Linked DNA regions of Homo sapiens: regions 1, 2 and 3 are each linked to region 4. The links are contacts of gene promoters, found by promoter capture Hi-C in human tissues and cell types (Jung and others, 2019). All regions are on one chromosome and are shown on one strand. The core of a region is centred on a gene start or on the middle of the fragment in contact, and the rest is flanking DNA. Distances in the headings are between cores, read along the strand shown.

The links. The method cuts DNA at HindIII sites, captures the fragments that hold promoters and counts their contacts. A contact is called where the count stands out against the background at its distance.
Region 1: a contact is called between a fragment that was not itself captured here and the fragment with the promoter of NACAD in region 4, in 1 of the 25 tissues and cell types used here (dorsolateral prefrontal cortex).
Region 2: a fragment that was not itself captured here is called in contact with the fragment with the promoter of NACAD in region 4 in 1 of the 25 tissues and cell types used here (spleen).
Region 3: a fragment that was not itself captured here is called in contact with the fragment with the promoter of NACAD in region 4 in 1 of the 25 tissues and cell types used here (aorta).

What each region holds. Positions count from the first base shown.
Region 1 is chr7:44,895,590-44,903,175 of GRCh38, reverse strand. No RefSeq gene overlaps it. Among named protein-coding and RNA genes, the nearest start is that of PURB, 14 kb to the right of the region's middle. The HindIII fragment of the contact is 4,747 bases long and covers 1-4,695 here.
Region 2 is chr7:44,873,361-44,880,583 of GRCh38, reverse strand. It overlaps PURB (purine rich element binding protein B), which reads left to right. Exons shown (of 1, transcript NM_033224.5): 1 at 1-4,285. Among named protein-coding and RNA genes, the nearest start is that of MIR4657, 4.8 kb to the left of the region's middle. RefSeq lists a silencer at 2,620-2,914. The HindIII fragment of the contact is 4,404 bases long and covers 1,989-6,392 here.
Region 3 is chr7:44,916,539-44,922,713 of GRCh38, reverse strand. It overlaps the pseudogene MRPS23P1. Among named protein-coding and RNA genes, the nearest start is that of PURB, 34 kb to the right of the region's middle. The HindIII fragment of the contact is 4,290 bases long and covers 810-5,099 here.
Region 4 is chr7:45,084,746-45,091,322 of GRCh38, reverse strand. It overlaps NACAD (NAC alpha domain containing), which reads left to right and starts at 2,354. Exons shown (of 8, transcript NM_001146334.2): 1 at 2,354-2,495; 2 at 5,211-6,577. The coding sequence starts at 2,429. The HindIII fragment of the contact is 12,529 bases long and covers 1-6,577 here.

The DNA of each region.
Region 1 (7,586 bases), core at 1,073-3,572, 190 kb after region 4:
AAATTAAAAATTAGAGGCAGTTGGATCACTTGAGGCCAAGAGTTTGAGACCAGCCCGGTCAACACAGCGGAACCCCGTCTCTATTAAAAATACAAAAATCAGTCGGGCATGGTGGCGCATGCCTATAATCCCAACTACTTGGGAGGCTGAGGCAAGAGATTCATTTGAACCCAGGAGGCAGAGGTTGCAGTGAGCTGAGATCGCACTATTGCACTCCAGCCTGGGTGACAGAGGGAGGCTCTGTCTCAAACAAAACAAAACAAAACAAAACAAAATTTTTTTTTTGAGACGGAGTTTTGCTCTTGTTGCCCAGGCTGGAGTGCAATGGCACGATCTCGGCTCACCGCAACCTCTACCTCCCAGGTTCAAGCAATTCTCCTGCCTCAGCCTCCCTAGTAGCTTGGATTACAGGCATGTGCCCCTATGCCCGGCTAATTTTGTATTTTTAGTAGAGGCGGAGTTTCTCCATGTTGGTCAGGCTGGTCTCGAACTCCTGACCTCAGGTGATCCATCCGCCTTGGCCTCCCAAAGTGCTGGGATTACAGGCATGAGCACCACGCCCAGCCAACAAACTTTTAATTAAAAAAATATTTAAAGAACATGTGGCCGGGCACAGTGGCTCATGCCTGTAATCCCAGCTCTTCGGGAGGCTAAGGTGGGTGGATCACGAGGTCAGCAGATCGAGACCATCCTGGCTAACATGGTGAAACCCCATCTCTACTAAAAATACAAAAAATTAGCCGCGCGTGGTAGTGGGTGCCTGTAGTCCCAGCTGCTCGGGAGGCTGAGGCAGGAGGATTGCTTGAACCCCAGAGGCGGAGGTTGCAGTGAGCCAAGATCGCGCCACTGCACTCCAGCCTGGGCGACAGAGCGAGACTCCGACTCAAAAAAAAAAGAACAGGTACAGAATTCCTAGCCCTATTTTTTTAAATGGGCAAAAGACATGAAGAGGCATTTCACCAAAGGGGGAACACATACAGCCAACAGGCACTCAGAGGGATGCTTGGCCTCCTCAGTAATCAGGGAAATGTAAACCAAGATAAGAGATAGTACTTTTCATTCATTCCACTGGCAATAATTAAAAATCTGACAATGCCAAGAGCTGAAAAGGTTCTGGATTAAAGACATCACTTATATATACATGAGGGAAGTGAAAAGTTATAATGATATGGGAAAACCACTGGGCATTTTCTCACAAACTCTGAAATTCACATGCCTGACAACTCAGAAAACCACTCTCAGGTGCGTACCTATGACAAGCCCCACACATCTGCCGCAGGAGACAAGTTCCACTGAGTGAGAACATTCACAACCCTATGCCCATGGGCAGATGATATGGTGGTGATATTTGCTCATGATGAAATAATATACAACCCAGGAGGCGGGGGTTGCAGTAAGCCGAGATCACGCCACTGCACTCAGCCTGGGCAACAAAGTGAGACTCTGTCTAAAAAATAAAAAAAAGAAAAGAAATAGTATACAGTGGTGAACATTAATTAACTTTAGCTAAACACAAAAAGCATGGGTAAACTTTTAAACCATAATGTGGAGTGAAAAAAATCAAGTCCATCAAGCATATGTAATGGTTAATTTTATGCATCAACTTGGCTGAGCCATGGCACCCAGTTTTTGGTCAGACGCTAGTCTTGTTACTGTGAAAGTATTTTTTAGATGAATTAACATTTAAGTCAGTAGCATTTGAGGAAAACAAATGAGCCTCCATATTGCGTGGGCCTCATCCAATCAGTTGTAGGCCTTAAGAGAAAAGACTGAAGTTCCCAAAGAGGGAATTCTGCCTCAAGAAGGCCTTCAGACTCAAGCTGCAACATCTAACATCAACTCTTCCCTGCATCTCCAGCCCAACAATCCGTCCTGCACATTTGGGGCTTGTCAGCCCCTATAATCATGTGAGCCAATTCTTTTTTTTTTTTTTTTTTGAGATGGAGTTTCGCTCTTATTGCCCAGGCTGGAGTGCAATGGCGTGATCTTCACTCACTGCAACCTCTGCCTCCAGGGTTCAAGTGATTCTCCTGCCCCAGCCTCCCAAGTAGCTGGGATTACAGACATGCGCCACCACACCCAGCTAATTTTGTATTTTTGGTAGAGATGGGGTTTCACTATGTTGGTCAGGCTGGTCTCGAACTCCTGACCTCCAGTGATCCACTCATCTTGGCCTCCCAAAGTGCTGGGATTACAGGCATGAGCCACTGTGCCCGGCCTGTGAGCCAATTCTTTACTGAAATCTCCCAGATAGATACATAGATGGATAGGCAGATGGACACCCAGCTCGGTGGTTCACACTTGTAATCCCAGCACTCTGGGAGGCCAAGGCTGGTGGATCACCTGACGTCAGAAGTTCGAGACCAGCCTGGCCAACATGATGAAACCCTGTCTCTACTAAAAATACAAAAACTAGCCAGGCGTGGTGGTGTGCGCCTGTAATCCCAGCTACCCAGGAGGCTAAGGCAGGAGAATCTCTTGAGCCTGGGAGGTGGACGTTGCAGTGAGCCAAGATTGCACCATTGCACTCCAGCCTGGGTGACAGAGTGAGACTCCATCTCAAAAAAAAAAAAAAAAGGCAGATGGATAGATATCCTATTGGTTCTGCTTCTCTTGAGAACGCTGACTAATACAATGTATAATATGATTCTCTTTTTATAATGTTTAAAAAATAAAACTAAATGATTTTTTAAAAATAATTTAGGATTTTGGCCACCTGAGAGGTGGGGGAAGAATAAAATATGGAAGGAAGACATATAGTAGATTTGAATTATTGTCAGTGTTCTAGTTCTTGAGTTGGCTGGTAATTCAAGAAGTTTTATGAAAACATTATTAGCAAATGAATGAATGAATAAATGGATTAACAATGAGAGTGTATCATGAACCAAAGATTTTGATCAGTCTAATCCTGTGCATAAAATAAAAATTTCATGTTACACATCAGTATGCATGGTTGGATCTTAGTTATGTAATACAAATATATATACATATATATATTTATACACCCATATATGTGTAAATTTGCATTTAAAATTTTGCATAGGAAAAACTCAGAAGGCTAGACACTAATATCTCTGTGTAGCACGCAGCATTCTGAATCATTTACATGTTCTTATTTTGTTTCTTTTCTGAAATTTCAAAATTTTCTACAATAAAAGCATATTTGTCAAAGGAGAACACATTTTTATTTTTTATTTTTTATTTATTTATTTTTTTTGAGATGGAGTCTTGCTTTTGTTGCCCAGGCTGGAGTGCAGTGGCACGATCTTGGCTCACTGCAACCTCTGCCTCCCAGGTTCAAGCGATTCTCCTGCCTCAGCCTCCCGAGTAGCTGGGATTACAGGCGCCCACCACCATGCCCAGCTAATTTTTGTATTTGTAGTAAAAACGGGGTTTTGCAATGTCGACCAGGCTGGTCTCGAACTCCTGACCTCGTGACCTGCCCACCTCAGCCTCCCAAAGTGCTGAGATTACAGGCGTGAGCCACCACGCCCAGCCAAGAACACATTTTTAAATAGGAGAAGAAACATAGTGACATCATCAGGATGTTCTGTTGAAACTCAGTTATGATTGTCTAATGTGCGTTCATTTTCATGTTTAATGAATGGAAAGTTGAAAATTGTGTACTACTTTTCAATTTAATTCCATTAAATATTTAGTGAGTGTTTACAACGAAGATACAAAAATAAGAGATAGTCCCTGACCCTAAGGAGTTTGCAAGTATGCAGGAAAAGAAGACTTCAGAAATAGCTGCATCCTAAGGCAGAACATGGTAAATGCTTAAGAGTATACCAGAGGGCTGTGTGTCTCTGTCCAGAGAGAACTCACCATGGCTCAGAGGCCCTTAGAAGATCTTCATAGAGATTCTAAATAGGCAAGGGACCAATTACAAGGATTTCATGCTAAACTAGACAGTGAAAACGAAAAGAATACAATGGGAAAAAGAGCACTAACAAAATTTATTTTAAATCATTTTTAAAACATTTCAAGAAGTTGAAGGTTTCTTTTTACTTTTTATTTTTACATAATTTCAGACTTTGAGAAAAGTTGCAAGAACAGCACAAAGAATTTCTGTATATGGCTGGGCATGGTGGCTCATGCCTATAATCCTAACACTTTGGAAGGCTGAGGCTGGAGGATCACCTGAGTTCAGGGGTTCAAGACCAGCCTGGCCAACATGGCAAAACTCTGTCTCTACTACAAACACAAAAATTAGCTAGGCGTGGTGGCGCGTGCCTGTAATCCCAGCTACTCGGAAGACTGAGGCGGGAGAATCACCTGAACCCAGGAGGCAGACGTTGCAGTGAGCCGAGATCACACCACTGCACTCCAGCCTGGGCAACAGAGTGAGACTCCGTCTCAAAAAAAATATATAAATAAATAAATAAAATAAAAAGAATTTCTGTATATCCTTGTTAAAAAAAAAAGCTTTAGAAACAAGTTTAACAGTTTATCTGAGTAAATAACAATTCCTGAATCAATTAGCACTCAGAATCAGAAGAGGTTCAGGGCCGGGTGAGGTGGCTCATGCCTGTAATCTCAGCACTTTGGGAAGCCGAGGCAGGCACATCACAAGGTCAGGAGATAGAGGCCATCCTGGCTAACACGGTGAAACCCCGCCTCTACTAAAAGCACAAAAAATTAGCCAGGCATGGTGGTGGGCGCCTGTAGACGCAGCTACTCGGGAGGCTAAGGCAGGAGAATGGAGTGAACCTGGGAGGCGGAGCTTGCAGTGAGCCAAGATTACGCCACTGCACTCCAGCCTGGGCGACAAAGCCAGACTCCATCTTAAAAAAAAAAAAAAAAAAAAAAGGAGAGGTTCAGGGACCTCTGCCTGGCAGTGAACAGTGAGCTTTTATAGGCTGAACACAAAAATAAAGAAATCACTTGATTGGCTACAGCCAGGCATCTGCCTTATTTGGGCATGGTATGATGAGTTGGCGGCCTGTCATTTGCTGAAGCTTGGCTGTTGTGATTGGCTGAAATCTGGCTATTTATTACAAAAAACATACTCTTAAGTTTTGGTTTCTTTATATACTAAGTTAGGTTGCATTGTATTATGCCGGAATTCAAAAAACAGAGACAGCCTCAGGCTAATGGCCTCCTGCTTATTTAAATTTTTTTGGAGACAAGGTCTCACTCTGTTGCCCAGGCTGGCCTGAGCTCAAGTGGTCCTCCCACCTCGGCCTCCCAAAGTGCTGGGAGTACAGGTGTGAGCCACCACACCCAGCCAGCATATTTAATTTAACACCCTTTACCATTCTCCAACTGTTAATACTTTCCCACGTTTGCTTTATCATTCTCTGTGAATGTGTATGCCTTTTTCTGAATGAGTGTAAATTGCAGCAATTATGTCTCTTTCATTTCTAAATACTTCAGTGTGTATTTCCTAAAAACAAAGATATTACCTTACATAACCAAAGTACAATTATCAAAATCAGGAAATTAACATTAACACAGTGTTATTATCTGATTTACAGACCTTAATGTTTGTTATGGCAAAGAAGAGCCCAAACACATACTGTCATTACTTCTCTTAATTTTCCTTTAATCTGAAACCATTCTTCAGTTTTTCTCTTTCATGACACTGACATTTTTGTAGTTATTTCATAGCCTGTGGTTTTGTGGAATTTCCCCCAATGTGAGTTTGTCTGCTATTTCCTCCTGATGAGACTCAGGTTTTGCATTTTGTGTGGAAATACTAAAGAAGTGATGCTATGTCCTTCTTGGTGATCGTATCAGGAGGTTCATGATGCCCATGTGTCCCATTTCTGCTGCTGTTAACTGTGATCACTGGGATAAGGCAGTGAATGCCAGGTTTATCACTGTAGAGTTGCTAATTTTCCTTCTGTAATTAATATGTACTTCTGGGGAGACTATGTAATTTTTTTTTTTTTTGAGACAGAGTCTCACTCTGTCGCCCAGGCTGGAGTGCAGTTGCACAATCTCAGCTCACTGCAACCTCTGCCTCCCAGGTTCAAGCGATTCTCCTGCCTCAGCCTCCCGAGTAGCTGGGATTACAGGCACGCGCCACCATGCCAAGCTAATTTTTTTGTATTTTTAGTAGAGATGGGGTTTCACCATGTTGGTCAGGTTGGTCTCAAACTCCTGACCTCGTGATCCACCCACCTCGGCTTCCCAAAGTGCTGGGATTACAGGCGTGAGCCACCACGCCTGGCCAATGTATATATTTTTACTCAGCAAACTTTAACCCACTGGTTTCAAATTCCATCATTTTTCCCATATTTATCATGTGGCATTCTATTATAAGGAAGAACGATTCTTGCTCTCATTTATTTATGTATATCAGCACGTATACATGAATCCTTATTTTATTCAGTAGCTGATATTCTCTTGCTATTATTATTTATTTCATGATTAAATTGTCCCAGATTTAGCCAGCAGGAGTGTCCCTTTGCCTGTTGCTATCATTATTTATTTCAAGACTAAATTGTCACAGATTTAGCCAGCAAGAGTGTCCCTTTGACATGTCCCCTCGTTTTTTTGTTTTTTTGTTTGTTTTGTTTTGTTTTTTTGAGAGAGTCTCACTCTGTCGCCCAGGCTGGAGTGCAGTGGCACAATCTCGGCTCACTGCAAGCTCCGCCTCCCGGGTTCACGCCATTCTGCTGCCTCAGCCTCCTGAGTAGCTGGGACTACAGGCGTCCGCCACTATGCCCAGCTAATTTTTTGTATTTTTAGTAGAGACGGGGTTTTACCGTATTAGCCAGGATGGTCTTGATCTCCTGACCTCGTGATCCGCCCGCCTTGGCCTCCCAAAGTGCTGGGATTACAGGCATGAGCCACTGCACCCGGCCATCCCTCCTTTTTTTAAAGACTTACTTTCTGACACAAGATATTCCAGGCTCAATTTATGTTTTCTCTTCTCTAACCCAAAATCAGTCATTTCTCCAAGGAGCTCTGGTTCCTTTTAGAGCATGGTATCAACAAACCAAGATCTGGGTCCCAGTTGTGCTTGTTCCCCCCGAGGCCATCATTGCTTCTAGCACACATACATGTGTTCAAATATACACGCACCCATACCTATGTGGCCGTGTGTATTTCTATATCTGTATGCATATGAATTTGCATATGTATGTATTTCTATATCTGTCTGCATGAGTGTGAATTCGCTTATGTGTGTACTCCCATATCTGTGTGTAAATATGCATATGTGTATTTTTTTTTTTGAGACAGGTCACTCTGTTGCCCAGGCTGGAGTGCAGTGGCGCGATCTCAGCTCACTGCAACCTCTGCTTCCTGGGTTCAAGTAATTCTCCTGCCTCAGCCTCCCGAGTAGCTGGGATTACAGGCATGCGCCATGACACCCAGCTAATTCTTTTTGTATTTTTAGTAGAGACTGGATTTTGCCATGTTGGCCAAGCTGGTCTTGAACTCCTGACTTCAAGTCATCTGCCCACCTCGGCCTCCCAAAGTGCTGGGATTGCAGGCGTGAGCCACTGCGCCCAGCCAAATTTCTATATCAATCTCTGTGTGTGTGTGTGCATGTAATGAAATCATGAGCTCCTACCAATATCTCTAAATCTAATCCAACCATAAGGTTTGTCCTAATCTTCCCTCTTTCTGTA
Region 2 (7,223 bases), core at 2,941-5,440, 210 kb after region 4:
ACGGCTGCACACTTCAGGCACTGTAGTTGCTGAAGATGCTTTGTTAAATGTGACCTTGACTGGCTTTACAGGGGTGTAGAATGTAATCTACACAAGGTGACTTTGCATCTATCTTGCTCTTGAGGTGGATGAAATTGAGAAGCTGGAGTGTGTAAGCCATGCACATAAGTATTCTTCACTGTAAATTTTGTTTTCATTTTTAACCCAATTATGGTACTTTATCCAATGCACAACTGATCTCTCAGTAGATATTCATTTGAAAATAGTGTGGCCTTGATCAGTGAGAAAGGGAAGGAGAAAAGTGACTTTTTTGCTTATGTAGAAATGACTCATTTGCTGAGAGTTTGTCTTTCTGCAGCACTCTTGGTATATAGTGATCGGTCTCCTTTTTGATTGGGGAAAGTTAATGTTTTTGACCCTGGAGTTAATTCAGTTGAGTTATCTTATATTTTTAGGAAGTATCAGAATTGCTCTGATGAATAACAAAGTTGACTGTTTTGATGTCCAATCTCAGGTTTTAGAATATAGTGGTGTAAAGTCCCACTATTTTTAATTCTTAAAACAACTTTAATTTCGTACACCCTAAAAGTCACATGCATAAGGCCTGTTCAGAGAGCAGAGCCTCCATCTTTTTGCTCCTTTTCTACTTTGTACTTCACTTGAAAAAATATCAAGTGACTTTACATTGTATATTTCCATTGTAACCCTGACATTTCTCAAAGATAAAGCACTTTTTGATCATGAAATACATGAAATCTTTGTGTGATGTGGATCATAGTTTCTCAGGCTCCCTTAGATAATTGCTTATGAATATTGTTCTAACTCTGTGTAAGAAGAGTAGAAATCTTTGCTAATGTTAGAAGGTTTGTATTATTGATCCAGAATGCATTTTGCTAGTTTCCAATGGATGGGAGAGTAAATAATGCTGCATTCACAATTTAATAAGTTACTTTCCCTTGAGCCTTAAGGTAACTTTTTCTTTCCTGTCAACTACAGCACTGAAGTTATAGTAAGTGAATGAGATTATCAGTTTTCAGGGTTGGTTTTAGAGTACTGTAAATCAATTAGCTGTCTTCCTAAAGAGTTACAACTCCCATTCAGTATACTGGATAATGGGTGTGTGGGTGGGGCTGGGGAGGGCGGGAGATAGTTTGTAGAAAAGAAAAAAGAAAAAAAAAAAAACACATTTACCTTAAGAAAATACAGACAAAAAAGAATAAAGTATGTGTCATATGCTCCATTTGAGATTCCAAATGCGGCCGGGCGTGGTGGCTCACGCCTGTAATCCCAGCACTCTGGGAGGCTGAGGTGGGCGGGTCAGTTCAGGTCAGCCTGGACAACATGGTGAAACCCCGTCTCTACTAAAAATACTAAAATTAGCCGGGCATGGTGGTGCATGCCTGTAGTCCCAGCTACTTGGGAGGCTGAGGCAGGAGAATGGCATGAACCCAGGAAGCGGAGGTTGCAGTGAGCCAAGATCGCGCCATTGCACTCCAGCCTGGGTAACAGAACAAGACTCCGTCTCAAAAAATAAATAAATAAATTCCAAATGTAAGGTGGAAATGGCAGATTATAACTTCATTTCCCCCATTTTTAACTTAGAAAAAACAAAGTCCTTAATTTTCAAGTATTAGCCCCCCAGAAGTTTCAGCAGATAGCTGGACTCTTGAATAATGATTTCTTTTGATATGTCTGACTTTGCTATTTAAAGTCTCCTTTCCCAGCCCTCAGTCTTAAAACTCAGTTTTATTACTGACGGATTTAACAGACTCTTACTTGAAAATTGTCCAATTATCAGTACTGAAAATTAGATTTGGAAAATGAAAAAATAATAAAATCGCATCAAGAAAACTTATTACCTTAGAGATTCCCAATTGATATCTGTACCCCTGATCCAAGTAAGGCCTTTATGAATGTATTTTATATTTCCTAAAGAAATAGGGAATATGCCATCAGTGTAATCACCTCTATTCACAGTCATTTAATTTGAAAATCTAACTCATGTCTCTTGAATTAGACATTCCAATTGGGATAGGTAGAGTCATGTTAAAACAATAGAATAGCAACTGCCATATTGGTAGTTTCACTGCTCAATATGATTTCTAATAAGAGCAGAGCTTTATTGGAAGCTAAAACTCATTTTTCTCCATAGATGATTCTAACAGTTTAATAAAAAAGTATAATTATACTTTAAGTGTCAACAGATTTTGAGTCTAGAAGCAAATTTCATTTTCCTTGTGTTATATCTAATATCCATTGACATGGGTAAGAAAACTAATTATGTCTTTTTAGTATGATGAAATGTGGGCCCAGAGTATTGGAAAGAAAGCAATAGCCCTATTCAGTGTCCACTAGGATGGATATTGCAGAAGGCATGAGTTTGTCCTTTTTTCCCCCTTACCTTAAATAACACTTCAATAGCTAACTTTTTCCAAAATATCCATTTAGGCCATCTCTTATTTCTTAAAGCCAAATATTTCGTCCCCAGTCTTAACTCTGAGTTGCAAGATCAGGCTGGTTGGAAGAATCTTTATATTTAGAAATAGGATGGTGAGTGGTTTGTTTATTCTCTTGTAAAATTCCTTTTTCAGAGACATAACTGCAGGGAGAGTCCCAAGAGAACTGAAGAACTGGATTATATCATTAAACACATTTGTGTTGTAGGAATTTGGGAGTTTCATTTTGAACTGATAAGATATTAGACATAAACCCTTGTTCCAGCCCACATGTGTCATCCCTGTGTACAAAAGCTCTCTGGATTCTTTTTTTTTTTTTGAGACGGAGTTTCGCTCTTATCGTCCAGGCTGGAGTGAGTGTAGTGGCTTGATCTCAGCTCACTGCAACCTTTGCCTCCCGGGCTCAAGCGATTCTCCTGCCTCAGCCTCCCAAGTAGCTGGGATTACAAGCATGTGCCACCATGCCCAGCTAATTTTCTGTATTTTTAGTAGAGACGGGGTTTCACCATGTTGGCCAGGCTGGTCTCGAACTCCTGACCTCAAGTGATCTGCCCGCCTCAGCTTCCCAAAATGCTGGAATTACAGGCATGAGCCATCACGCCTAGCCTACTCTCTGAATTTCTAAAAGTCAGTAGGTTGACCAAAAAGTCTAGAAACTGGCTTTAAGTCAGTATGGGACGTACTTATAAAGAGTCCATGGTTTTGCACGTTTCGGTAGACAAGTAAATCTGAGTTATTTTTCAATGACTTACCAATATTTGAATAGTAACTAAGATCGTCAGTGTATCTGGACTTCTTTTTTTGAAGTTCTAAAACAATTATAGTAGGGATTTATTATTTTGGGCCTCCATCCAGATGTTTTTCCAAGATCATTTTTAAAATTCATTTGTCTTCTGTTTCCAGATAACATACTTTCCGTTCTATAGGAATCTTCACTGCCAATCATAGTATCTACCAGTGGCTTTCTTAGACTATTCACTCCAAAGCTGGGACTGATGTCCTGCCAGTAGAGAATCTACAGAAATAATTTGAATGAATTAAAACCAAATCTTGATAGCAGGAGACAGCTTCCTGATCTAGATGTACAATTAGAGTTTAGGTTGGAAATTACTTTAAAATGTGTTTTTTGGGGATGTCTTCAATCTCTGTGTAAATACCCACATGCTTATGCATTGTAAACCAAGTGTGTATTCCTGTGTATGAATTTGTAGAACTGATTTCTGCTTCAAGAGAAGCTGCACCTTTAATTTTATAAGGTCCCCTCCACCTGTAACCCTATAAATGTCTGTAAATAAAACACTAAAATTTGTAGTGATAGGATCAATTTGGGAATATCTGCTGAGAGACCAAAAAGTTCATTTTTTTAAGTACCTTGGTTAAAGAGTAAAGATTATTCCTCTTATTTTTTAAAGAAGAATGCACTTTAACAAACATAGAGCTGCATGGGCAATTCAAACAAATCTGTGAAGTGCAGTACCCATTCAGAAATCACACTTCCTGAAAACCGTTCAAAAGCAGAGTCCAGACGGGCTGTTGATCTCACTGCCTGTAGGTTGAAGCTCAGATTCTGATCAATTTTGAGAGGAGCAGGGCTGCTTCAAAAGAGCAATGTGAATACAGTCAGAAGCTTCAGACTGGTCTGTAAAAATGGCGGGTCCCGTATTTACCACTAACTAGCAAAACTGACAGAAAAACTCACAGAGAAAAAATGTAAGAATCCTTCCTGCTGGTGTGCACTCCTTACAATAGACTTTTGCAAATGGAGTTTTACAGTCTATATTTAAAAAAAATTGTATGTTTGTAACAAATAAAGTATGCAGAAAAGTGAATGACAATCTTGTGCTTGTGTCTCTAAGTAATTATGTGGTGATAGGGGAGGGAAATCCCATCTGTTGGGGCTCACGAATGGGTATGGAATCAGGAGTTCCCACTTAAAATGACTTAAGTCATTGCACATTTCATCTGAACTATAGCCTGTTCTAGAACTTCTGGGTTGCCGTAACCCTTTTCTAGTAAGCAATTTGTGGAGTAAATCAAAACTGCAAATTAATTTTATGCTTTGGTTGATAACCTAGACAGCCACTTGGTTCCCTTAATTTCTTCCATCATTTACAATGGCTTGAAAGAAACTGCTAAGTCTTCATTCATTGTTTATCAACATTGTAGTTGCTTAGGAGGTAAATTAGGGCAGCCTTTTCTTGCCCTAATGTTTAAGAAAAAAACTGAATTGTGTCCATTTATCCTGGCCAGGTTGGTCTCAGGAACCCCTTTACAATTAAATTTACTGAATATCCCCAAGGAGGTTTTATCTTTCTAGGCTTTATCCGTAGATACCATTTTAGAAGCTGAAACTTTTTTTTTTTTTTTGAGACGGAGTCTTGCTCTGTCGCCAGGCTGGAGTACAGCAGCGCAATCTCAGCTCACTGTAACCTCCGCCTCCTGGGTTCAAGCGATTCCCCTGCCTCAGCCTCCCAAGTAGTTGTGATTACGGGCACGTGCCACCACGCCCGGCTAATTTTTTGTATTTCAGTAGAGACAGGGTATTACCATGTTGGCCAAGATGGTCTTAATCTGACCTCGTGATCTACCCATCTCAGCCTCCCAAAGTGTTGGGATTACAGGCGTGAGCCACCGCGCCGGCCAAGAAGCTGAAACATTTTCCAGACAAAAATAACAAGCACACATTCCATCAGCTATCAGAGCAATTACATGATAATGTCATAGCCTCTGGAAAACTCCACTGTAAATTTATGAAAGAATGAAAGTGGAAAATGCGAATGTTCTTATGAACATAGTTTTGACCTCTTGGGCTCCTGAGTCTCGGGCAACCCTAGGGGATTCTGGATCACACTCTTGAGAACCACTAACTAGACTAATAAGTAAATAGTGCCTTTCTGAAAATGAGGGATGGTTTTTTATGTATAGATAGCTTAATCCTTTAGTTCTCGTATATTTTCTTTATATTAGAAGCTCCTGCTACGAAATGCCTACACCGCCCCCAGCCCCCCCAACACACAACATACATAACTTTCCTGTGATTGTCCATTTCTACAATCTCTTAAGTGGTTCTCAATGCTGGCTGCAGAACCACCTGGAAAGCTTTGAATACTGATGCCCAGGCACCACCATAGACCAACTGAATCAATCTTTGAGACACAGACATGGAGTTTTTTGGTAATGCTTTGCCTTTTTGAGTTCCCCAAGGTGATTCTAGCCTACAGTCAGGGGTGAAACCAGTGGCCTGTGGGATTTTAAGGTATAAAGAAGGGAAAAGGGTTGGGAATCTCTGCCAGAGGAAAACAAAAGAGTATAGCAGAACATTCCTTGAATGTATGGCTTTCACCTCCCAACCACTGTGCCTAAATTACCACTTAAACCTCTAAAATAACTCATCTTGAGAAAAGTTTGTAAATGGAATCCTTCAGTATTGATATTAGTAGTCCCTCCCTGGGAAAATCTGGGGTTTTACTAGCACAGAGGAACCCTTAGCATGCATCGGAGTCACTTAGAGGGCTGGTTAAAACATGGATTACTGAGTTTCTGATTTAGCAGTTCTAGAGGGAACTTAAGTTGCATTTCTTTTTTTTTTTTTTCCCCTTGAGACAGAGTTTCACTCTTGTTGCCCAGGCTGGAGTGCAATGGCACGATCTCGGCTCACTGCAACCTCCACCTCCCAGGTTCAAGTGATTCTCCTGCCTCAGCCTCCCGAGTAGCTGGGATTACAGGCACGTGCCACTGTGCCCAGCTAATTTTTGTATTTTTAGTAGAGACAGGGTTTCTCCATGTTGGCCAGGCTGGTCCCAAACTCCTGACCTCAGGTGATCCACCCGCCTCAGCCTCCCAAAGTGCTGGGATTATAGGCGTGAGCTACCGTGCCCAGCCTTAAGTTGCATTTCTAACAAGTTCCCAGATAATGCTGATCCTGCTGATTTGAGGACCATGCTTGGGGACTAACTGCAGAAATCAACAAAAGTTATGGAAAGAATTAGCTTAGTTGCCAACTGACACAGGTCTCAGGAAGTATTTGCCCTGATGAGTTAGTCTGCTGTAGTGCTGCTGAGGCTGGGTTTGGTTCACTAGAAACCCTGTAGATGGTTTGAATTTTTCAGATTCATGTGAAGTTTGTTACTGTACAAGTTTAAACAATAGATGCAGCCAGGCTACAGCCTGAAGAGCTGCATTAGAGCAAATGCCTGCAGGAACAGGGCTATTACCTTTATAGTTTTTGTATTTTTTCATGTCATGACTATCCCTGACTGTTCTAAACTAACAGTCTGATTTTGGGCAAGTACCTTCAGTACCAAAATCTTTTTTTTTTTTTTTTTTTGAGACATAGTCTCACTCTGTCACCCAGGCTGGAGTGTAGTGGCGTGATCTCAGCTCACTGCAACCTCCACCTCCTGGGTTCAAGCAATTTTCTGCCTCAGCCTCCTGAGTAGCTGGGATTACAGGCGCCCGCCGCCATGCCCAGCTAATTTTTTCTTTTTATTTTTAGTAGAGACTGGGTTTCACCAAGTTGGCCAGGCTGGTCTTGAACTCCTGACCTCATGATCCACCTGCCTTAGCCTCCCAAAGTGCTGGGATTACAGGCGTAAGCCACCACGCCCAGCCCCAAAATCTTTTAATAACAATTCTTAGCTCAGATCGTTTGTAAATTCATTCAGTTAATTATTGGGTAGCTGCTATATTCCAGGTATTGTACTAGGGTAGAGGATACGGTTGTCGTTCATATGGGACTTATAGTTTAGTGGGTCGGGAGAAAGAAGA
Region 3 (6,175 bases), core at 1,705-4,204, 170 kb after region 4:
TGTCTTTAATTCCTCTAGCACCACTAGGTTAGGGTCTCCCCGACCCAGCTGGTCTCGGTAAAAAAGAAACAGGTGAAATTGATTGTAATCATATTTTATTTAAAATGGTTGATCTAAAACATTATAATTTCAATGTATCATCAATATGAAAATGATCGATACTACATTTTACATTGTGTGCACTATGTCTTTGACGGCCAGTGTACTCTTTACACTTACTGTACTTCTCCAGTGGACTCGCTGCACTTCAAGTGCTCAGAGCACGTGTGGGTGCCAGAGTGGACAGCATAGAGCTTCGGAGGCCTGCAGGTACTCCCCAAATATTTCAAGAATGAATGAATGAATGAACGTAGGCATGAACTGTGGATTGCCACAAGTTCTCACTGGGACCATGTCCTATACCCACCTCATCAGGGACGGCCACCAGGGGGCGCGAGAGTGCTAGTTGACGGGCTAGTTGACAGGCTCCACATGGCATTCTTGCTGAGAGCCCAGGCCTGGGGTGGGGTGTCCCGGGGCCACAGGTCTCACAGGACTCAGCAACCCAGGGCGTTGAGTCCCCATGCCCCCCACCACCACCCCCAACCATCTGCTGCCGGCCACTTTTCCATGCTTCAGCCATCCCCTGGTGAGGAAGGGGAGGAGGGCTGGCACTGGTCAGGCAAGGAGCAGGTCTGAGGGTCTCAGAGAGGGATCCCTCTGGCTGCTCAGTAAGGCACAAGCCCCTTGACTCATCAAGTGTGAGGGTCCCTGCAGAGCCGACATAATAGCTGGGAAGAAAGGCCGCTCTATGGCAGAGTCAACCCTCTTTGTGGCTCTGGCTCAACAGTGGAGAGACACCCTCCTCCCTTTTCAGGGCGGCTCTCCCACTGGGGCACCTCCCTCACTGATGCTATCTCCTCGACAACCACTGGTTTACAGCCAGCCTGTCTCTAGCCCCATTTCTCTTCCAGGTTGTCACCTCTTGATCTAGCCCGCCCATTCAGTAGGTAAGAACACCCAACCCCCACCAATCTCTCCCCACACATGCCTTCTGCGCTTCCCGGAGGTTCCTGCCAGTGGCCCTTGAGTTGCTCCTTCAGGTGCTCCCAGTAGGTGCTCCCCCAGGTGCTCTTCCTAGATGTTAGATGCACCTCCTTTTTTTTCCTCTTCCTTTGTTTTTAAGCACCTAGGGAATTTTATTTATTTATTTACTTATAGATGGAGTCTTGCTCTGCTGTCCATGCTGGAAAGCAGTGGCATGATCTCAGGTCACTGCAACTGCTGCCTCCCAGGTTCAAGTGATTCTCCTGCCTCAACCTCCAGAATCGCTGGGATTACAGGCATGTGCCACTACGCCTGGCTAATTTTTTTGTTTTGTTTTGCTTTTGCTTTTTTTTTTTTTTTTTTTTGAGACAGAGTTTCGCTCTTGTTGCCCAGTCTGGAGTGCAATGGTGCGATCTCAGCTCACTGCAACCTCCGACTTCCAGGTTCAAGCGATTCTCCTGTCTCAGTCTCCTGAGCAGCTGGGATTACAGGCGCCCACCAATATGCCCAGCTAATTTTTGGTATTTTTAGTAGAGAAGGGGTTTCACCATGTTGGCCATGCTGGTTTCAAACTCCTGACTTCAAGTGATCCACCCGCCTTGGCCTCCCAAAGTGCTGGGATTATAGGCATGAGCCACCGCACCATGCCATTTTTTTGTATTTTTAGTAGAGAAGGGGTTTCACCATGTTGGCCAGGCTGGTTTCAAACTCCTGACCTCAGGTGATCCACCCACCTCGGCCTCCCAAAGTGCTGGGATTACAGGCATGAGCCACCACACCCGGCCATTTTTTTGTATTTTTAGTAGAGACAGGGTTTCACCATCTTGGCCAGGCTGGTCTCAAAACTCCTGACCTCAAGTGATCTGTCCGCCTGGGCCTCCCAAAGTGCTGGGATTACAGGTATGAGCTACCACGCCCAGCTGGAGTTCTTTATTTAATGATGTCCTACCATGAAAGTTCACATAACTCCTTTTTTTTTCAGTTTTTATTATTCTTTTATATAAATCCTCTGGATCATAACTGCTTCTGTCAAACCATGATACCGAGCTTTATGACAACTCAGAAGTAAGGACTAAGAGAAGGCAAATATAATGCCTTCAAGATCAAGAGACGTTTATGTAGTTCAACTGTTAGAAACAGCTCAACATTGAGCTAGTGAGTAGAGTGTGTATGTCAGTATCCACAATATACAAACCCTTCACGGAGCTGCAAGACCTTTTAACTGTCCTTCAGGTGCTTCCAAATGCTGGTCCTGTGGAACTTCTTTCTTTCTGAGGCTGGTTTTCTTTCAACACAGTTTGGGGTCTGACAATCATGTGTTCAGATTTCCAGGAAACGTGACTACCTTCCTGTTGAGTCCTTGTTTCTCCTACGCATCTTAAAATGACACTTTCTGCCAATAAAGCTTTCCTTGTTTCTACAAATAACTTCTCTTCATCTGTTTCTTTAAGTTTCTGCAGCTCAATATACTTCACAAAGCATTGACAGGTAGGCTTGAAGCTTGGATTGAACAGATCAAAAGCTTTTGACCAGATTTGTAGGCTGAATAGAATTTTGCTCCAATGGGCTGGGCGCGATGGCTTATGCCTGTAATCCCAGCTCTTTGGGAGGCCAGGGCAGGTGGATCACCGGAGGTCAGGAGTTCGAGACCAGCCTGGCCAACATGACAAAACCCCGTCTCTACTTAAAATACAAAAATTAGCTGGGTGTGGTGGCGTAAGTAGCTGGTGTAATCCCAGCTACTCGGGAGGCTGAGGCAGGAGAATCACTTGAAATCAGGAGGCGAAGGTTGCAGTGAGCCGAGATCATGCCATTGTACTCCAGCCTGGGCAAAAAGAGCAAAACTTCATCTAAAAAAAAAAAAAAGAATTTTGCTCCAATGGGATCCTCATGATACCAGATGTCCTCCATGAGAATTTTGGCTTTGCCATATCATAAGTGGGGCCTCTGGAAGACTGGCTCCTTCCACAGGGGAAAGGTGTTATGTATGTGATGCTAGAGAGGTTTCTCCTTCAATTTCTCCTACAGCACTCCTGCTCAAATCACATACTGAGTCTGCAAAAAGATGCTCCCTGCGATTTCCAGCCAGCTGTAGATGTTCCTCTTGAGTGCTTCCTGAGTGGTCCTCAAGGGTGCTCCTCCTAGATTCTCCAGATGCTCCCCAGGATACGCCTCCCATAAAAGACATCTAGGTGATTTTCCACTCCGTGAATTCTTAGGACACTTTCTTAACTGCTTCTGGTTTCTCTGTTTTCTACTTAACTTTGCATATTCCTGTTAGATCAATCTTTCTAAAGTGCAGCTCTGAAAGGGGGTATGGTGGGGGGATACTTCTGTGCAAATGCCTGAAATACCTCCAGTGGCATCTCCATCAGAATAAAACCCAGACATCTGCATAGAACATGTAATGATCAAGTCAGAGTATTTAGGATATCCATTGCCCTAAGCATTTATCATTTCTATGTGTTGGAAACATTTCAAGTTCTCTCTTCTACCTACGTTGAAATAAACAAAACATTGTTGTTAACTATAGCCACCTTACTGTGACTAGATCTTTTTCCTTCTAACTGTATGTTCGTACCCATTAACCAACGTGTTCTTCCCCCCTCCCACTGACACCCCTTTCCCAGTCTCTACTATCTATCATTCTACTCTCTACTTCTATGGGATCCACTTTTTTTTTTTGAGATGGAGTTTCACTCTTGTTGCCCAGGCTGGAGTGCAGTGGTGCAATCTCAGCTCACCACAACTTCTGCCTCCCAGGTTCAAGCGATTCTCCTTCCTCAGCCTCCTGAGTAGCTGGGATTACAGGCATGTACCACCACGCCCAGCTAATTTTTGTATTTTTAGTAGAAACAGGGTCTCACCATGTTGGCCAGGTTGGTCTCAAACTCCTGACCTCAAGTGGTCTGCCCACCTCGGCCTCTCAAAGTGCTGAAATTATAGGCGTGAGCCACCACGCCCAGTCAATTTTTTTTTCTTTTTTTGGAGACAGTCTCACTCTGTAGCCCAGGCTGCAGTGCAGTGGTGCGATCTTGGCTCACTGCAACCTCCGCCTACCAGGTTCCAGTGATTCTCCTGCCTCAGCCTCCCAAGTAGCTGGGATTACAGGCACACACCACCACGCCCAGCTAATTTTTGTATTTTTAGTAAAAACAGGGCTTCACCATATGGCCAGGTTGGTCTCAAACTCCTGACCTCAAGTGATCCGTCCACCTCGGGCCCCCCAAGTGCTGGGATTACAGGTGTGAGCCACTGTGCTTGGCCTGAGATCAACTTTTCTAGCTCCCACATATGAGTAAGAACATGTGATATGTTCAATAATGAGAGGATGAAAAAAAGGACATGTGATATATGTCTTTCCATGCCTAGCATATTTCACTTAACATAATGATCTCCATTTCCATCCATGTTGCTGCAAAGGACAGGATTTCATTCTTTTTTATGGCTGAATAGTATTCCATTCTATACATGTAACAAAATATCACATGTACCCCATAAATATGTACAAATATGTATTGATTAAACAAAAGAAATGTATCCAATAAAGAATGAAGATGCTAGTAACCAGAATTTGGCATATCCTGTGTTTTAGAAACCAGTGCTTACCAGATTTCTGGAAGATAAATAATCAGCTAGTTATTCTGTATGTGATGGTCTATGTGGATTGAACCCTTTCCTTACTATTTTTACTGGTATTTTGTAAATATGAAGCCATTGAAGAATAAACAAATTCTATGTTGTCCCAAAGGAAAATACAACTAATTACGTATCAGTGACTAATTAAATACGGTCATTTTTTTCTTCTGAAACACTTCAATATAGTTTAAAAATAAAATAGTTTACATAACTTTAAAAAAAATCCAGACATTTGGAAGTAGCCTGTCCCTCTGAACCCTCAGAATGTTTGTGAACTTGTCTCTGGCCAGGTACAGTGGCTTGTGCCTATAATCCCGGCACTTGGGGAGGCTGAGGCAGGAGGATCACTTGAGGCCAGGAGTTAGAGATAGGCCTGATCAACATAGCCAGACCCTGTCTCTACAGAAAAAAAAATTTTTTTTTTAATTAGCTGGGCATGGTGGCCTGTGCCTATAGTTCCAGCTACTTGGGAGGCTGAGGCAGGACGATTGCTTGAGGCAAGGAGTGCAAGGCTGCAGTGAGCTATGATTGTGCTGCTGCACTCCAGCCTAGGTGACAGGGCAAGAGCCCATCTCAAAAATAATAATAATAATAATGATAAATAAATAACTAAAATTAGCTGGGTGTGGTGGCATATTCCTGTAGTCTCAGCTACTTGGGAGGCTGAGGTGGGAGGATCTCTTGAGCCTAGGAGTTTGAGGCTGCAGTAAGCTGTGATGGTGCCACCGCACTTCAGCCTGGGCAACACAGTGAGACCCTATCTCTAAAAAAAAAAAAGGTAGCAGGGATACTTTTTTCTTATCTCCTACTAAATGCCTATTTACCTTTCCAGAATGCCACACTTGGCTTATAAACACTAATGACCTAACAGAATGCCTTACTCAGTGGGAGGCCAAATAAATAACTCTCATGTTGTTCTCTTTCTTCATGTGACCCAGTCTGAGTATTTGAACCTAAGGGTAGAACTTACCCAACACCATACTTAGAAATGACTTCAGGTCAGGCATGGTGGCTCACGCCTGTAATCCCAGCACTTTGGGAGGCCGAGGCGGGCCGATCACGAGGTCAGGAGATCCAGACCATCCTGGCTAACACGGTGAAACCCCGTCTCTACTAAAAATACAAAAAATTAGCTGGGCATGGTGGCGTGCCCCTGTAGTCCCAGCTACTCGGGAGGCTGAGGCAGCAGAATGGTGTGAACCCGGGAGGCAGAGGTTGCAGTGAGCCAAGATCACGCCACTGCACTCCAGCCTGGGTGACAGAGCAAGACTAGGTCTCAAAAAAAAAAAAAAAAAAAAAAAAAAAAAAAAGCCAGGCACTGTGGCTCACACCTGTAATCCCAGCACTTTGGGAGGCCGAGGCGGGCAGATCACAAGGTCAGGAGATTGAGACCATCCTGGCTAACACGGTGAAACCTCGTCTCTACTAAAAATACAAAAAATTAGACGCACGTGGTGGTGGGTGCCTGTAGTCCCAGCTACTTGGTAGGTTGAGGCAGGAGAATCACTTC
Region 4 (6,577 bases), core at 1,105-3,604:
TTTGGGAGGCCAAGGTGGGTGGATCACGAGGTCAGGAGTTCAAGACCAGCCTGGCCAACAGGGTGAAACCCCGTCTCTACTAAAAATACAAAAATTAGCCAGGCATGGTGGGACCTGTAGTCCCAGCTGCTCGGGAGGCTGAGACAGTAGGATCGCTTGAACCCGGAAGACAGAGGTTGCAGTGAGCCGAGATCATGCCACTGCACTACAGACTGGTCAAAAGAGCAAGACTCCATCTCAAATTAAAAAATTAAAATTAATAATAATAATTTTTACCAGTTTCACTGGGGAGCTGCTCAGCAGAACTCCCCATGCTTTCATTCTGGAAGTCAATCTGCCTTTTATTTCTTCTTGCTTTATTGCAAGGTTTAGAAATTCCAATAATATGTTGAAAAGAGTGGTGAGTGCGGACACCCTTGCCTTGTTCCCAATCTTAAAAAGCATTCAGTCTTTCACCATTAAGTATGATGTTAGCTGTATAAGTTTTTTATATAAGATCTTTATCAAGTTTATTTTTAACTTGCTGAAAGTGTTTTTTTTTAAATCATGAATGATGTTGGTTATGTCAAACACATTTTCTGTGTCAACTGATACCAAAATTTTTCTTCTTTAGCCTGTTGGTGTTCTGGAGTATTGTTGATTGATTTTCAACTGTCAAACCAGCCTTGCATACGTGGAATAAATTCCACTTGGTCATGGTGTATTTTTTTTATACATCATTATATTTGATTTGCCAATATTGAGAATTTTTGTGCCTGAATTCATGAGAGATGCTGGTCTGCAGTTTTCGTTTTGGGGGTCTTGGGGTGTATTGACACTTTGTTAGTTTTTTTTTTTTTTTTTTTTTTTTTGAGACGGAGTCTCGCTCTGTCGCCCAGGCTGGAGTGCAGTGGTGCGATCTCGGCTCACTGCAACCTCCGCTTCCCGGGTTAACGCCATTCTCCTGCCTCAGCCTCCTGAGTAGCTGGGACTACAGGAGCCCGCTACCACTCCCGGCTCATTTTCTGTATTTTTAGTAGAGACGGGGTTTCACCACGTTAGCCAGAATGGCCTCGATCTCCTGACCTCGTGATCCGCCAGCCTCGGCCTCCCAAAGTGCTGGGATTACAGGCGTGAGCCTCCGCGCCTGGCGACACATTGTTAGTTTTGACATCAGGATATTTCTTGCCTTATAAAATGAGTTAGGAAGTGTCCCCTTCTCTTTTGTTTTCTGGAAGAGATTGTTTGAAGTTGATGTTAATTCTAATGGTGTGGTGTGTCTGACTCCTGGGGTACAGCGGGGAGAGATGCCCAGCAGGCAGCCAGGTGTGTAGCACTGAGCCTTGAGGCAGGTCTGGGGGAGTCAGAGGGCAGCCCCTGGCTTCATGAGCTCAAAGTTAGAACCCACAGAAGACTGAGGATGTTGAAACCTCCCTCCCTGCCTGTGACAATGGCTACTCTGATTCCCCCCACCCCAGTCAGGGGTGATGACAATGTCTCATTCATCTGTCTCCCTGGTGCCTGGCACGGGGGAGGAGGGGTGCTCAGTGAATCTGGGTGGCGCAGTAGCCTGTGTGAAAGCAAGAGGCATTTCAGGAAATTCACGGGGCGGGCTTCCTCCTGGGAGGTGTGGCAGAGGGTGCTGCCAGGAATAGAGGGAAACACTTTCTTCCTTTTCCTTCTACTGCCTAGTGTGGGGGTGGAGGGGAGATGATAGGACAGATCACCGAGTTGCCTAGAGACCTGGAGACCGACCCATCCGGGTCGCCTTCCCTGGTGCGCTCTCGTCGGCTCCATCCCTGGTTGCCATGGAGACAGGAGGCGGTTGCCACGGAGACCGACGACTGCCAGGACCAGCCAATCACTCCAGAGCTGCAGCTCCAGCTCACCTTTTGCATGGAGGCATCGGGCTGGGCGGGGCCCCCTCCCTCCCCAGGCCCTGCACCCTCTGCTTGGTCAGCGGGGAAGGAGGCTGCGCCGCCAACTCCACCCAAAGCGCTCCGAGCATCCCAGAATCCCAACCACCTCCCCAGCCTCCCACAACCAGGGTTCTAGGGGCGTCCCCGCCTCTTCCTGGCCACGGGCGAATGCCACCCTGAGGCAACCCAGCTTCCAATTGGCCCTGAAACCCTCCCTCGTAAATGCTGTGGAAAGGGTGGGACCGGGCGCAGGCGCCCACCCCCGCTCCCCCACGAAACCGCCCACAGCGAGAGGGAGGCCACAGCCGGGTGGGGTGGGGGCGGGGAGGGAGCCCCCCCTACGCCCTCCGCAGTGCCTGGCGAGCCCGCGCACGCTCACTCGCTGGGACAGGCGGGCGGGGCGGCCTGACGTCACCCACTGCCCCCACCGCCCGGCCGAGGGGCGGTGGCCGCGCAGGCTCGGCGGGGCGGCGGCACGGACTGACGGAGGGTCGGAAGGACTGAGGGACGGGCGGGCGCACGGCCAGGCCATGCCTGGGGAGGCTGCCCGCGCCGAGCTGCTGCTGCCCGAGGCGGACCGACCCGGGCCCCGCACAGGTGAGGCCGTGGCCACTCTTTCCCTGCCTTCAGCCTCTCCCCTCTCCAGCCCGGGTTCTCTTTCCATCGCTCACCTTTCACCCCTCTCCCCCATCCCCCTGGCCCCCCTCGAGTCCCCTCCCCTTTCCGCGCCCTGTCCTTCCCTCCATCTGAACCCTGCTACCGCCTCTCTCAGAACTGCGGGGAAGGTGGGGCGCACGAAGTGCCCGCCGCGAGCCAGAAAGAACGTGGGGGCTTAAGCCCTTGGCTTCCGACCCAGGGATCGTGGGGCTCGCATCCCGCCCGCTGCATCCCGTTGTTTGCACCGAGCTGCCAGCCTGCTGGGGCTGGGCCGCTCTGGACAGAGGCAGCGGGTTCTGGAGGCGGGGTGTCCGGCTGATACCCCCAGTACGATCAGGTGACCACCGGGAGGGTCCTCAGTTGCACCCGGTCTGTCCTGGGCCGGCGACTGGTCATGGCTCTGGAGGGAGGAGCAGGACTGGCCAGAGCCTAGGAAGCCCGGATGGAGGGCCAGGTGGTGGAATAAAGCCTAAGTTGGGTCTGGAAGGTGGAAGGCCTTGGGGGAGGTGGCCTGATTAGCAATGGCCCTGGGTGTGCAGACCACCTGTCCTTAGGCTGGGTCAACAAATGCTGGTGGAGGCTGATGGGGTCTACGGGGCCTAGAAAGAGCCGAGCCTGGACAGTCCTGGCGTGGAGGTCAGCCATGTGTGGGTAGGGCCAAGGGCACCTTGCTGTGGGCAAGAAGTCACCCAGAGATGGGACCACTGCTGGGGCCTGGGGCCTGGTTTGGGGTGACACAGGCTGCTGCCTCTGCTCTAGGTGGGAGGCAGGGAGTGCAGGCCCAGACTTCCCAGCCCCAGGGTCTTGTGCTGGCTCTGTTCTGGCTTGCTTGGTGACCTTGAATGAGTTATAAAAACCTTTGGCCTTTGGTTTCTGCTCCATCCCAACAGCTCAGCCGTTCCCCTGCCCTGGGGGCCACACCAGGGGCCAGAACCAAGAGCCCAGCTTCAGGGCACCCAGTGATGCCCCACCAGCCACGCCCACTCCTGATGTTGGGTGTCAGGCATGCAAGAACCCAAAGGACCCCCTTGTCTCAGGACCCCCTGGATGTCCCATCACCCCAGCAGCAAAGCCCTTGGGTGACAAGTTTTGGCTGGTGGTTCAGGGCTCAGGGCTCTGATGCTGCTGAGGGGAGCTGGAGCAGCCTGGCAACAGGGTCCCCCTTCTTTCAGCTTCAACTCTAATCCTGGCTCTGCTTTGTAGATGAGAAAGCTGAGGTGCAAGAGATGTTGTCCTGGTCACCAGTGAGTGCGGGAGAGCAGGAGCCACCAGGCAGGCATCTGCAGCCTGGAGAGCTGGCCCCTGTGTGCCGCCGCTCCCCCACCTTGGGCAAGACCTGGCCTGGGCTCTGAAGGGCCTTCATTGGATGCTTCAAACAGAGGTGCCTTTGGCCTAGGTCCAAGTGAGGGAGTGGACATAATGGAGACATTTAAAATGAAGCTTATGAGCATTTAGAGCACACAGGAAAATGCTTATGAGATTAGGTTGGGTGAAAATAGCTAGATTCAAAACTGAATGTGCAATGTGATCTCGCCTGTGATAAAATACAGGCCAGTAAGAGTCCAGGAGGCAGAAAACCATAGCGGTCTGGTGTGCCGCAACCTCGGAGGGGTTTTCTTCCATCTTCCTGAGTCCCCTAAGTCCTTTCTGACCCATGAGGGCTACTTCCTATGGACTCCTTTCTCAGCTGGAGGTGTGTTAGCTCACAGACGTTTACTGAGTACCAGAGCCTCCTCATACTGAAGCCTGCCCAGCGGGTTGGGGGAGTGCATCATGGGACCCAGAGAAGGCCCACAGGGCAGGGTGGGAACTCCCAGCACCCGGGAAGGAACTGGTGGTCACCCATGGGGTGGCTGCCACCAAGGAGAGGACTCAGCCAGAGGCTGCTGTTGGCCCTCTGAAGCTGTCCTGTGCTCTTGCTGGGCTCCATGGTCTCCGTTCCTGCCCACCACTGCCCTTGTGGCCAGATGCTCCAGCAAAGCCTCCACGGGACACTTCATCTCTGTTCTCCAGAAACTTGGCTGCGTGTGGTGGCCCCTGGCTTCCCCATCTCCCTGGGTGCAGGAGGGGAGCAGGGTCAGAGGGGCCTGGTGAAACCCTGACATGTTGGCCTCAAGTGTAGGTAGCAAGGACAGCAGAGAGAGGAGGCAGAGCGAGGCATGAAGCCCAGAGTGTTCGAGCTGCGCGCGTCGTGCTGGTGCCACCTGCCTCATGTGGCGCATCTATTGGGAGGTCATGGGATGGGACTGGCACTGCCTGGCAGATTCCCACCACCAGCCCCTCCCACCGAGCCCAGCTGAACCACACTGATTCTGTGGAATGGAAACTGCAATCCAGTCTCCCCAGAGAGGCTGAAATGCTAGTTCTTTGCTGAGGTGTCCTTGAGAAAAGCCGCCAGACAGGTCTGTTCATGACTCCCAGCAACACTTCCCTCAAAACCCCTCTCTAGGAAACCACTAGCATCTGCTCTCTGCTGTCAAAACTCCTGGAAGTTCTCCCTCAAACGCAGCGTGCAGAGGGTCTTCTCTTTTCTCTCCTGCCTTCCTGGATCCACCTTCCTCTGGGCCCTATGCAGCCGGAATTCATCTCCCCGGGCCTGGCCCTTGCCTGGGAGATGCATCCAGGGGCACCTCATGATCTTCTCTATCTCCACAGATCTGTCCTGCGATGCGGCCGCTGCCACCACCATCCTGGGAGGGGACCGGCGGGAGCCCTGTGCTCTGACCCCAGGGCCCAGCCACCTGGCCCTCACGTTCCTGCCCAGCAAGCCGGGTGCCCGGCCCCAGCCCGAGGGAGCCAGCTGGGATGCAGGGCCTGGTGGGGCACCCTCGGCCTGGGCGGACCCAGGGGAGGGCGGCCCAAGCCCCATGCTCCTCCCTGAGGGCCTGTCTTCCCAGGCTCTGTCCACGGAGGCTCCTCTCCCGGCCACCCTGGAGCCCCGGATTGTGATGGGAGAGGAGACGTGCCAGGCCCTCCTGTCACCCAGAGCTGCCCGGACAGCGCTCAGGGACCAGGAGGGTGGGCACGCAAGCCCAGACCCACCCCCCGAGCTGTGTTCTCAGGGTGATCTTTCTGTGCCTTCCCCTCCCCCAGACCCTGATTCCTTCTTCACGCCTCCCTCCACCCCCACCAAGACCACCTATGCCCTGCTTCCTGCCTGTGGGCCCCACGGGGACGCCAGGGACTCAGAGGCTGAGCTGCGGGATGAGCTGCTGGACTCGCCCCCCGCCTCACCCTCGGGCTCCTACATTACGGCCGATGGGGACAGCTGGGCCTCTTCACCCTCCTGTTCCCTCAGCCTGCTGGCTCCGGCTGAAGGGCTGGACTTCCCCTCAGGCTGGGGCCTGTCCCCGCAGGGGTCCATGGTGGATGAACGAGAGCTGCACCCAGCAGGGACCCCAGAGCCCCCGTCCTCTGAGTCCAGCCTCTCTGCAGACAGCAGCTCCTCCTGGGGCCAGGAGGGCCACTTCTTCGACCTGGACTTCCTGGCCAATGACCCAATGATCCCCGCAGCCCTCCTACCCTTCCAGGGCAGCCTCATCTTTCAGGTGGAGGCAGTGGAGGTGACACCGCTATCCCCAGAGGAAGAAGAAGAGGAGGCTGTGGCGGATCCCGACCCAGGTGGGGACCTGGCTGGGGAGGGTGAGGAGGACAGCACGTCTGCCTCCTTCCTGCAGTCACTGTCTGACCTGTCCATCACGGAGGGCATGGACGAGGCTTTTGCCTTCCGGGACGACACCTCTGCAGCCTCCTCTGATTCAGACTCAGCCTCCTACGCAGAGGCAGATGATGAGAGGCTGTACAGCGGGGAGCCCCATGCCCAGGCCACTTTGCTCCAGGACAGTGTCCAGAAGACAGAGGAGGAGAGCGGAGGTGGGGCCAAGGGGCTGCAGGCTCAGGATGGGACTGTGTCCTGGGCCGTGGAGGCTGCTCCTCAGACCTCAGACAGAGGGGCCTATCTGTCCCAGAGACAGGAATTGATCTCAGAAGTAACAGAAGAGGGCCTTGCTTTAGGCCAGGAG